Linked DNA regions of Homo sapiens: region 1 is linked to region 2. Evidence: promoter capture Hi-C in 16 types of primary human blood cells and fetal thymus (Javierre and others, 2016). All regions are on one chromosome and are shown on one strand. The core of a region is centred on a gene start or on the middle of the fragment in contact, and the rest is flanking DNA. Distances in the headings are between cores, read along the strand shown. Region 1 holds the start of DCHS1 (dachsous cadherin-related 1). Region 2 holds the start of TRIM22 (tripartite motif containing 22).

Evidence for each region. Contacts are between HindIII fragments. The CHiCAGO score rates a contact against its expected background, and 5 or more counts as called.
Region 1: the fragment with the promoter of DCHS1 here is called in contact with a fragment that was not itself captured in region 2 in 1 of 17 cell types (activated CD4 T cells); the score reaches 5.3 in activated CD4 T cells.

The regions. Positions count from the first base shown.
Region 1 is chr11:6,653,124-6,657,321 of GRCh38, forward strand. It overlaps DCHS1 (dachsous cadherin-related 1), which reads right to left and starts at 2,686. Exons shown (of 21, transcript NM_003737.4): 1 at 2,440-2,686. The HindIII fragment of the contact is 4,247 bases long and covers 1-4,169 here.
Region 2 is chr11:5,689,249-5,693,302 of GRCh38, forward strand. TRIM22 (tripartite motif containing 22) reads left to right here and starts at 542. Exons shown (of 8, transcript NM_006074.5): 1 at 542-651. It overlaps LOC124902620 (a long non-coding RNA gene), which reads right to left and starts at 3,506. Exons shown (of 2, transcript XR_007062561.1): 1 at 1,430-3,506; 2 at 979-1,048. RefSeq lists enhancers at 222-1,214, 336-675, 647-1,846, 1,262-1,361. The HindIII fragment of the contact is 2,438 bases long and covers 1,548-3,985 here.

The DNA.
Region 1 (4,198 bases), core at 1,436-3,935, 960 kb after region 2:
GTCTAAGCCTCCATTTACCTCTCCCACAGACTCTCCCTCTCTCGTCACCTCATGCTGTAAGTGTCAGGCTCACTGAACTGCTTTATCCCTCACACACACACTATTTTCCTTCATGTGGGCTTTTACATGCTGCTCCCTTGGCTTGGCATATTCTCCACCCACTCCATCAAGTTTAAGTTTAAATGCCACTTCCTCCAGAAAGACTCTTCTGACCTCCCTACACTGGCCTAGGTTACTCTGCTGTGTGCTGCTGTGTTACAACACTCACTCCACAGCCTGTAAGCTCCATGAGGATAAGGACCATGTCCATTTTGTTCACACTTGTGCTGCCAACTCTCATCACAATGCCTAGCAGAGTAGGTGCCTAGTATGTGTTTGTTAAATGAATGAATTAGCGTTTTGATTAATTAATCTACTGAAAACAATGGTGTGAGGGATGTGGGGTAATGAGTGTGAAGAAAATAGAAAAAAAATCATCTATTTATTTATGAAGGGCCCAGTTGAGGTTTGAATTTTTTAGAAGTATGAATTTATAGAAGCGTCCCCTGGTGTGGTTGAGAAATCATTCTAGTTAGGGGCAATAATTTGAGGGATGAGTATAGAAGACAAGGAAACACAGTGGCCAAGGAGTGGTTGAAGGGATGATCCTTAGCATATGAGCTGGAAAGAAAGCACAAAGTCAGAAAGGAACAGAGTAGGAGAAAACAAAGAGGTCAAGGGCAAGAGGTCATTATGAGGTCAAAGAGTGTAATGGGAGCGAGAACATCTGAAAGCTGGAAGGATATAGGAGGTTGTGGGTAGAGAGAGGAATGCAAGAGTTTAGAATTTTAAAGGTGGAATAGTTCTACAGAGTGGTCCTGGGAGGGAGGAAGGTAACAGGAGCTAAGGAGGTCAAGAATCTGTGAAGCTGTGGTGTTGAAGGACACTGAGAAACCATGGCAGGATACACTATCCAGATCTCGAAGTTTTCAGGGAACAAGAGGGTATACCTGGGAGATCTACGTATGAGAAGGGGTGAAGGTGTGAGCTTGATAAGTTAAGCAGAGTTTATTCAGAAGTTGGGACAGGTCTTCCTGTGGTGTGCATGCCATCCATGACTGTCTCCTGGGGGTTGTACAAGTGGCTGTGTGGTAAGGGCAACTGTGGCACAGCCTCCTGTTAGTGACAGGCTTCTAGGACACCCACTATGTATGGGCAGCTCCAAGGAAGTAAACCTAATAAGATGTGCTGTGACAGTTGTGACAGTGCTTCTGATGGATGTGGATTGCAGTGACAATGTCTCCTGAGAGGTGCTGGTCTACTTGTTTGTTGCTGGTGACAGTGTTTCTGGAGAGTGTTAGCAGTAACAATGTCTTCCATGGTATGTGTTGGCCTTGACAATGAACCGGTGGGAGTATGTTGGTTGCAGCATTTCTCCTGTGGGTGTGTGTTGTCATGAGAGCATTTTCCGTAGGTGTGTGTTGGCTTGATAGAGTCTGCTGTAGGTGTGTGTTGGTTCTGACTGGGGGTGCTTCCTGGGGGTGGGCTTCCTGGAAGTGTATGATGGCTGTGAGGGTATCTCTTGAGGATGTGTGTTCCCTGGGACTGTGTCCTCTTGTGGGTTGAGTAGGGCTATGACTGTGTCCCTATGGGTATTTGAGAAGTTGACATAAGCGACAATATTTTTCTGGCCTATGACCTTGTGGCTGTGGGCCCAGCCCGCCACACTGAGTTCATTGTGCTTCTAGACCTCCCTCTCCCCACCCCCTCCACGTGGGACCCACGCCTGCGGTGACCTTGCTCTGTCCCCTGCACGGGATTCTGAGCTGGGTATCCCAGACACAAACTCCCAGTTGCTCCAATCTCCCACTCAGAACACGTCTGGGTGACCCCCCCCTCCATCCACTTCAGGCTGTGCCTGCCTCTCCTCTGCTTCTCTGTACTTCTCCCCACTCAGTTTCTTTGTCTCTGTCTCAGTTGGTCTCTGTCACACACCCATCCTCCACATTCTGACACATGGGCTCCCACAGAGCGGGCAACACACCCTCACAGGGACTCGCTCACCATGACACACGGTCATTCTGACCCTCACACCCTCAGAGTGACACGCACATGCACACACAGCCAGAGAGACGCCCAGGGACACACAACCTCCCAGTGACACGCACTGACACACTCCGACGATGCACTGGAACACAACGCTGTCGCACCCCACACCCCCGGCGCACGCTCCCGCCGCCACCCTCCCCGACTCGATGACACACGCACACAAAGACCCCCAGGCCCTGCCCCCACGCTCACGTTCACGCCCGCCCGGGTCCCGCAGGCCCAGGCCCCCCCTCCCCCATTGTCTCCGGCTCAGAACAAAGCCCCCGGCTCCGCCGCCGCTGCCGCAGCCCAGGGGAGGCCGGCGGGCAGGGCGGGCGCGGCCAGACGGGCCGGGCGGGCGCGGGCACTGACCTCCGCGCGACGCGGGCTCCCTCGCCCGGTGCTGGGGCGCCGTCCGGCCGCGGTCAGCCCCCCGGGCAGCGCCCGCTCGCGCGGGGCCTGAGGCCGCGCATCGTCCGCAGTCGCTGTCTCCGAGGCCCGCGATCCCCTCCGGGCAGCCGCCGTCGGTCCGCGCGCCCTTGGCCGTCGATCGGTCCGTCCGCTGACGCCCGGGCGCCGCCTCCTGCACAGCCGCCCCGCCGAGGATGCGAGCTCCGCTGCCGCGGCCCCGCGCCCCCTCCCCTCCCCTCCCCCCGCCCTCCGCGCGGTAACCCGAGCCCCCGCCCCTCCGCCCGCGGAGCCCCCGCCCCCGCCCCCACCCGCGCTCCGCGCCGCCGCCCCCCCTTCCCCCCGGCGCCCGCCCGGCCTCCCTCCGCCCCTCCACTTCCCGGCCCCAGGCCCCGGCTCCGGATCCGGCCCCAGCGCCGCGCCGCGCCCCCGTCCCGGTTCCCTTCCCTTCTCCCCGTCACTTCTCCCGTCCTCTCCTCCCATTCGGTTCTCTACGCCCTCTCGTCTCTTCCCCTTCTCGCCGCTCCCTGCTGCTCACCTCCTCCTCTTCCATCTTCTTTCCATCCCCTATTCCCCTCTTCTCCCTCAGTGCCCTGGTCTCCCTCTCGCCCCTTCTTTTTCCCAACCGTCATCTCCATTCCCCTCTGCCTTTCTCCCATCCTCTTCTTCTCGCCCCATCTCCATCATTTTCTCCCCAGCTCTTCTCCCCTTTCTCTTCTCCTTACCCCTTCTGCTTGATCTCTCTCCAGCCTCTTTACATCAGATTCTCCTTCCCCACCTCTCCTTTTATCCTTTTCTTCCTATCCCTTTCTCCCCGTCTCTTCTCCCCACCTTTCTCCCCATCCCCTTCTCCCTGTGTCTTTCGCCTCACCTCATCATCCCCTTTTCCTCACGCCTTCTCCTCATTCCCTTTTCTCACCCCTGCCCTTTTCACTACCCGCTGTCTCTTCCCCTTCTTCCATCGTAACCTCGGCCTTCTCCCCTGTTAGTCACTTTTCATTATCCCATGATTTCTGTCTCTTTTCTCTCCTTCACCCCCAGGCTCCCTTTCCCCCACTTTCTCTTTATCCCAAATTTGAGGGTAGAGATCGGGAGATATTGGAAAGAAGAGCTTTGGGGATGGTGGTCCCACTCACGATATACTCCCTAGAAAAATTAAGTGAGGAGGAAACCGGGCAGGGAAGTGGGAAGGGGCTCAAAAAACCAACTTGGGAGAGAATATGGGGAGAGGGGAAATCAGACAGAGACAAAGAGCAAGCAATCTTAAAGGAACTGGGAAGAGTTCTGACTCCTGTCCTTCTTCCTTAGGACTGCGAGTAGACTGTGAGAAAAACAGGTTTTCTGGACTTGAGATGTGTACAAATGGCACAAAGAAATCAGGAACTTCTGTGGAGAAGGAACACAGTTTCAGCTGAAGAAGAAGGGAGTGTGATTTTGGAAGAGGAGTGAGGGAGAGACTGGGGTCCTTGATCATATCCACGGCGCTTGGGCAGCTGGGTGGATGGATGGTGGTGAGGCTGGCTGTGCTCCACAAAAGGAGCAGCAGGAGGCTGCAGGGGGTTCGTATGAGGAGATGATGACTGTGACTTGGGGCTGCTGACTTTGAAGTGCTGGTTGGGTAGGTAGGTCTGCAACTTAGAGGAGCGGTCTGGGATGGACATAAATATTTGGGAGTCATCTGCAAATGCCGTATAAGCTTGAATATAGGGTGAAGTTTTTGCTT
Region 2 (4,054 bases), core at 1,517-4,016:
AATTAATTGATGGACTCTTAAGATTTAATGACATTTTGAGAACATTTTTTTCAATGGGCTCACACTAAAGATCCTTTTATTTATAAAAATAATTTTTTTACCATTCACAATGTCAGCTGCTAATACTCATCTTGTCAGCCCAAATTTGTAGAGCTTTATAACTGAGTATCTTCCTCGTCAGACTGCATTTCAAGAAGCTAGGTCCCAAGTCTCTGGATCTTTATTTTCCTGGCTTAGGTCTTAAATATAAGATAAATTCGACTAATAATTATAGGACTGCATTGGAATTCTAAGTATTCAGGCAAGCTGTATAACTGTAATTCACATTCTTTTTATTCAAATATTCTTGCTTGAGTAAACCACAGTAAGAATAAGGAAGTAGTGACTGAGTGCCTTGCCAGTACAGCAGATGCTAGAACATAATGTAGCATTACTTTCCCCAGGGTTTATTGTTATGTAAGTTCTTGTTCAGCTTCCTTTGTTTTCTTTCACTTCTGAGAATTTAACTTTCGTTTCTCACTCAGCTCCTGTGGGGAAACTCATTTGTGGAGACCAGCCCTCTGGCTTGGTGAGTGAATCTGGTTTACACCGGCTCCTGCCCTGCCTTCACTCTTCTCCCCTGATTCAAGACTCCTCTGCTTTGGACTGAAGGTGAGTGGAGCAATCTGTGGGAGCATAGAATGGGAGGCTTTGAGAAGAATAGATTGATTGTGTCTGGGTGAGTTTAATTTGTAGTTCTGAAGCTGCTCTGCATAAACAAAAAGAGGCAGCTTGTGAACTGTCTGCTGAGATGGCAGAGGAAGAAAGCACTGAGTCTGGGAGAGGGGTAACCTTTAAAGAAGAGAGGTTTGCAAAAGCAAAAAGCCTTGCTTGTTTCCTAGAGGGACCATTCATTTCTTCAATCTAGGTACCTCCATCACCTTCCTTGTTGGAAATAAAGCTCAGAATCTTAAGGGAGACGAGCACTCAAACAAAGGATTTCTCAGCAAAGCAATTTTATTTCTGTGCAGAGGGGTGCTTCTTCTTTGCCAGTCGCCATGAGAGCACACTAGAACAAAGGAGGAAGAAAGTTTTTATTCCTGACGCAAATCCTACCCCTTTGCCCTTTCCCCATTGGCTGGAGTCGGCCACACAATCTAAACTAGACTCAGTTGGCTAAACATTTTAACTTTCTTTAGATAAGGTGGGCACGTGAGGGAGAGAGGGGAGATGGGGAAGGGGTGTGTGTGATGAGCTAGATAACTAATCTTCTTCCAAAATAAGGAAAGGAATGTGAGTTGGTACTGATAACGCCTGGTACTGTGACATGTCTAGGCATGTAGCAAAAGCAGAAAGGAAAGAGAAGAGAAGAAAAGTGAAGTGGGGAGGGGCACTGTGAATTAAAGAATAAAGGATTGATCAGGCTATTTGAAGAGAAACCTTATCATACCCCACATTCCTATTCTGTCATTTTGATTTTTCCATTTTGCCAACGTGGATCAGAATTTTCTTTTATTCAGAGGCAGCAAATTCCTTCCTCCTTTCTCCCGAAGAAGCCTGTGCAATGAAGCTTTGTTTTCACTTTTCATAAAGCAACCTCATGATGAGGTTCAGCAGGGATGAGAGCCCTTATCTGGATCTGGGTATGAGGCGAAGGAGTCTTAGGTACTCAGTCTTCAGAAGTAAGGCCCTTTTGAAGGTTATCCTTTTACTTGCCTTCTGGTAACTTTTTGGATGCTGTCCATAGCTTTCCTGATAAATTAGCAGCCCTCTGGTTAGTCCGAGGAGAGAGGCCGCAGGACGGGCAGACTGCTGCTCATCTCTGCAGCTCCACTTTGGTCTCTTGTCTCTGAAGGTCCAGTCACAGGGAACTTGTTCTTCTGAGTACCCACAGCTTACTCTTCCTTTGTAGCAGGACCAGCCACAGAAAAAACTCCTCAGACACCGAGGTAAAGAAGGAAGGGGTTTATTCGGCCAGGGGCATAGGCAAGACTCCTGTCTCAAGAGCCGAGCTCCTCGAGTGAGCAATTCCTGTCCCTTTTAAGGGCTCACAACTCTAAGGGGGTCCGCGTGAGAGGGTCGTGATCGATTGAGCAAGCAGGGGGTACGTGACTGGGGGCTGCATACACCGGTAATTAGATCGGAACAAAACAGAGTAGGGATTTTCACAGTGCTTTTCTATACAATGTCTGGAATCTATAGATAACAAACCAATTAGGTCAGGGGTCCATCTTTAACTACCAGGTCCAGGGTGTGGCCCCGGGCTGTCTGCTTGTGGATTTCATTTCTGCCTTTTAGTTTTTACTTTTTCTTTCTTTGGAGGCAGAAATTGGGCATAAGACAATATGAGAGGTGGTCTCCTCCCTCAACTTCTGTAGCACCCAATGAACCTCTGGTATCCACTCCTGTTTTAGAAGTTGCTATTATTCTAGGTACACCTTTTCATCATGAGTTACCTCAACTCCCTACTCAATTTTCCCTTGCACAGAGCTAAGGCAAGGAGTTGGTAATTTCTCCTGAGTCTTATCTCGATCTTATCGCTGAGCATTTTGTACCTTGATGCCTATGTCACCCATATTCTGATGTGTCCTTTTCTTTGTTTCACTTTTCAGAGGTCCAGGTAACTGTCTCCTTATGTGTCTGTACCGCACATCTTGTCAAGGTCCATATCTAGTATTTATTCATTGTCAAGTCTAGTACAGGACCCAATAAATAAAACTGTACTTTTAATTTTTGAAAAATATTTTTGACTAAATTCACAAAACAAAAGCATACAGGTATAGTAAAAAAACAAAAACAAAAACAAAAAAACTATCTATTCGATATATAATCAACATTAAATACCGGTAAGAGATTATGCTCTGGACTAGGGAAAAGGAAGTAAACACGCAGTCAAAAAAAGGAAGTAAACCAGCAGTTTTAATGTAGCAAAAAGGTAGCAGTTACTAGAGGATAAATGTAAAACCAATAAAACAAAAGCAACAAACTAAAAGGGCTGCAATAGGATGTGGTATCTGTAGTGCTCTTGTCAAGGGCTTTGCAACTTTAAATAGATTTCACATTAGGTCTCACTGTGAGACAATGATTTTGAGCAGTCTTCAATAAAATGATGGATTTAAGAACTGATGAACTAACTGTGAGAGAAAGAGATGACACTGGGGTAGCTTTATGAAATCTGTCCTCTGTTACAAAATGACTTATCTGAAACATATTGACCAGAGAGTTAGAACTCTTGGAAAAAGGGTCATTACTTGGGGAAAACTAAACCCTGGACATTTTAGTGGGTCATTGAAAAAGGAACTCTGAGTTTAGACAAATAAGAAGTGGTAACGGTGTTTCTGAGTTCTCCAGGTTTCTGCATGCCAAGAACAGGACCTATTTTCTCCATTGGTAGTTCCTGACCCAAGGAACAGGGGAAATTTAAAAGATGTTGGCTAGGCCAGGCACCTGGTGGCTTGTGCCAAAGCCTAGCCAAAAATCCCAGCACTTTGGGAAGCCAAGACTGGAGGACTGCTTGAGTTGAGGAGTTTGAGACCAGCCTGGGCAACGCAGTGAGACCTTGTCTCAAAAAAAAAAAAAAAAGATATTGATGGCTAAACCCCTTATAATTTTTCTCCTTATTGTGTAGCCACACTAATTTAATTTAATCTTTTTTTTTTTTTTTCTTTTGACGGAGTCTTGCTCTGTTGCCAGGCTGGAGTGCAGTGGTGTGATCTCAGCTCACTGCAACCTCCGCCTCCTGGGTTCAAGTGATTCTCCTGCCTCAGCCTCCAGAGTAGCGGGGACTACAAGCAACTGCTGTCACACCTGGCTAATGTTTGTATATATATATATTTTTTAGTAGATACGGGGTCTCACCATAGTGGCCAGGCTGGCCTCAAACTCCTGACCTCAGGTAATCTGCCCGCCTCGGCCCCCCAAACTGCTGGGATTACAGGCTTGAGCCACAGCGCCTGGCCATCTTTTTTTTTTTTTTTTTTTTGATTTAAATTGCACAGATAAAGAAAGCTTCTGTGCAGGTAATCAGAGTATTCTGAAACAAGGAAGCTACGGACCTAGTTAGCCTTCACCGTGT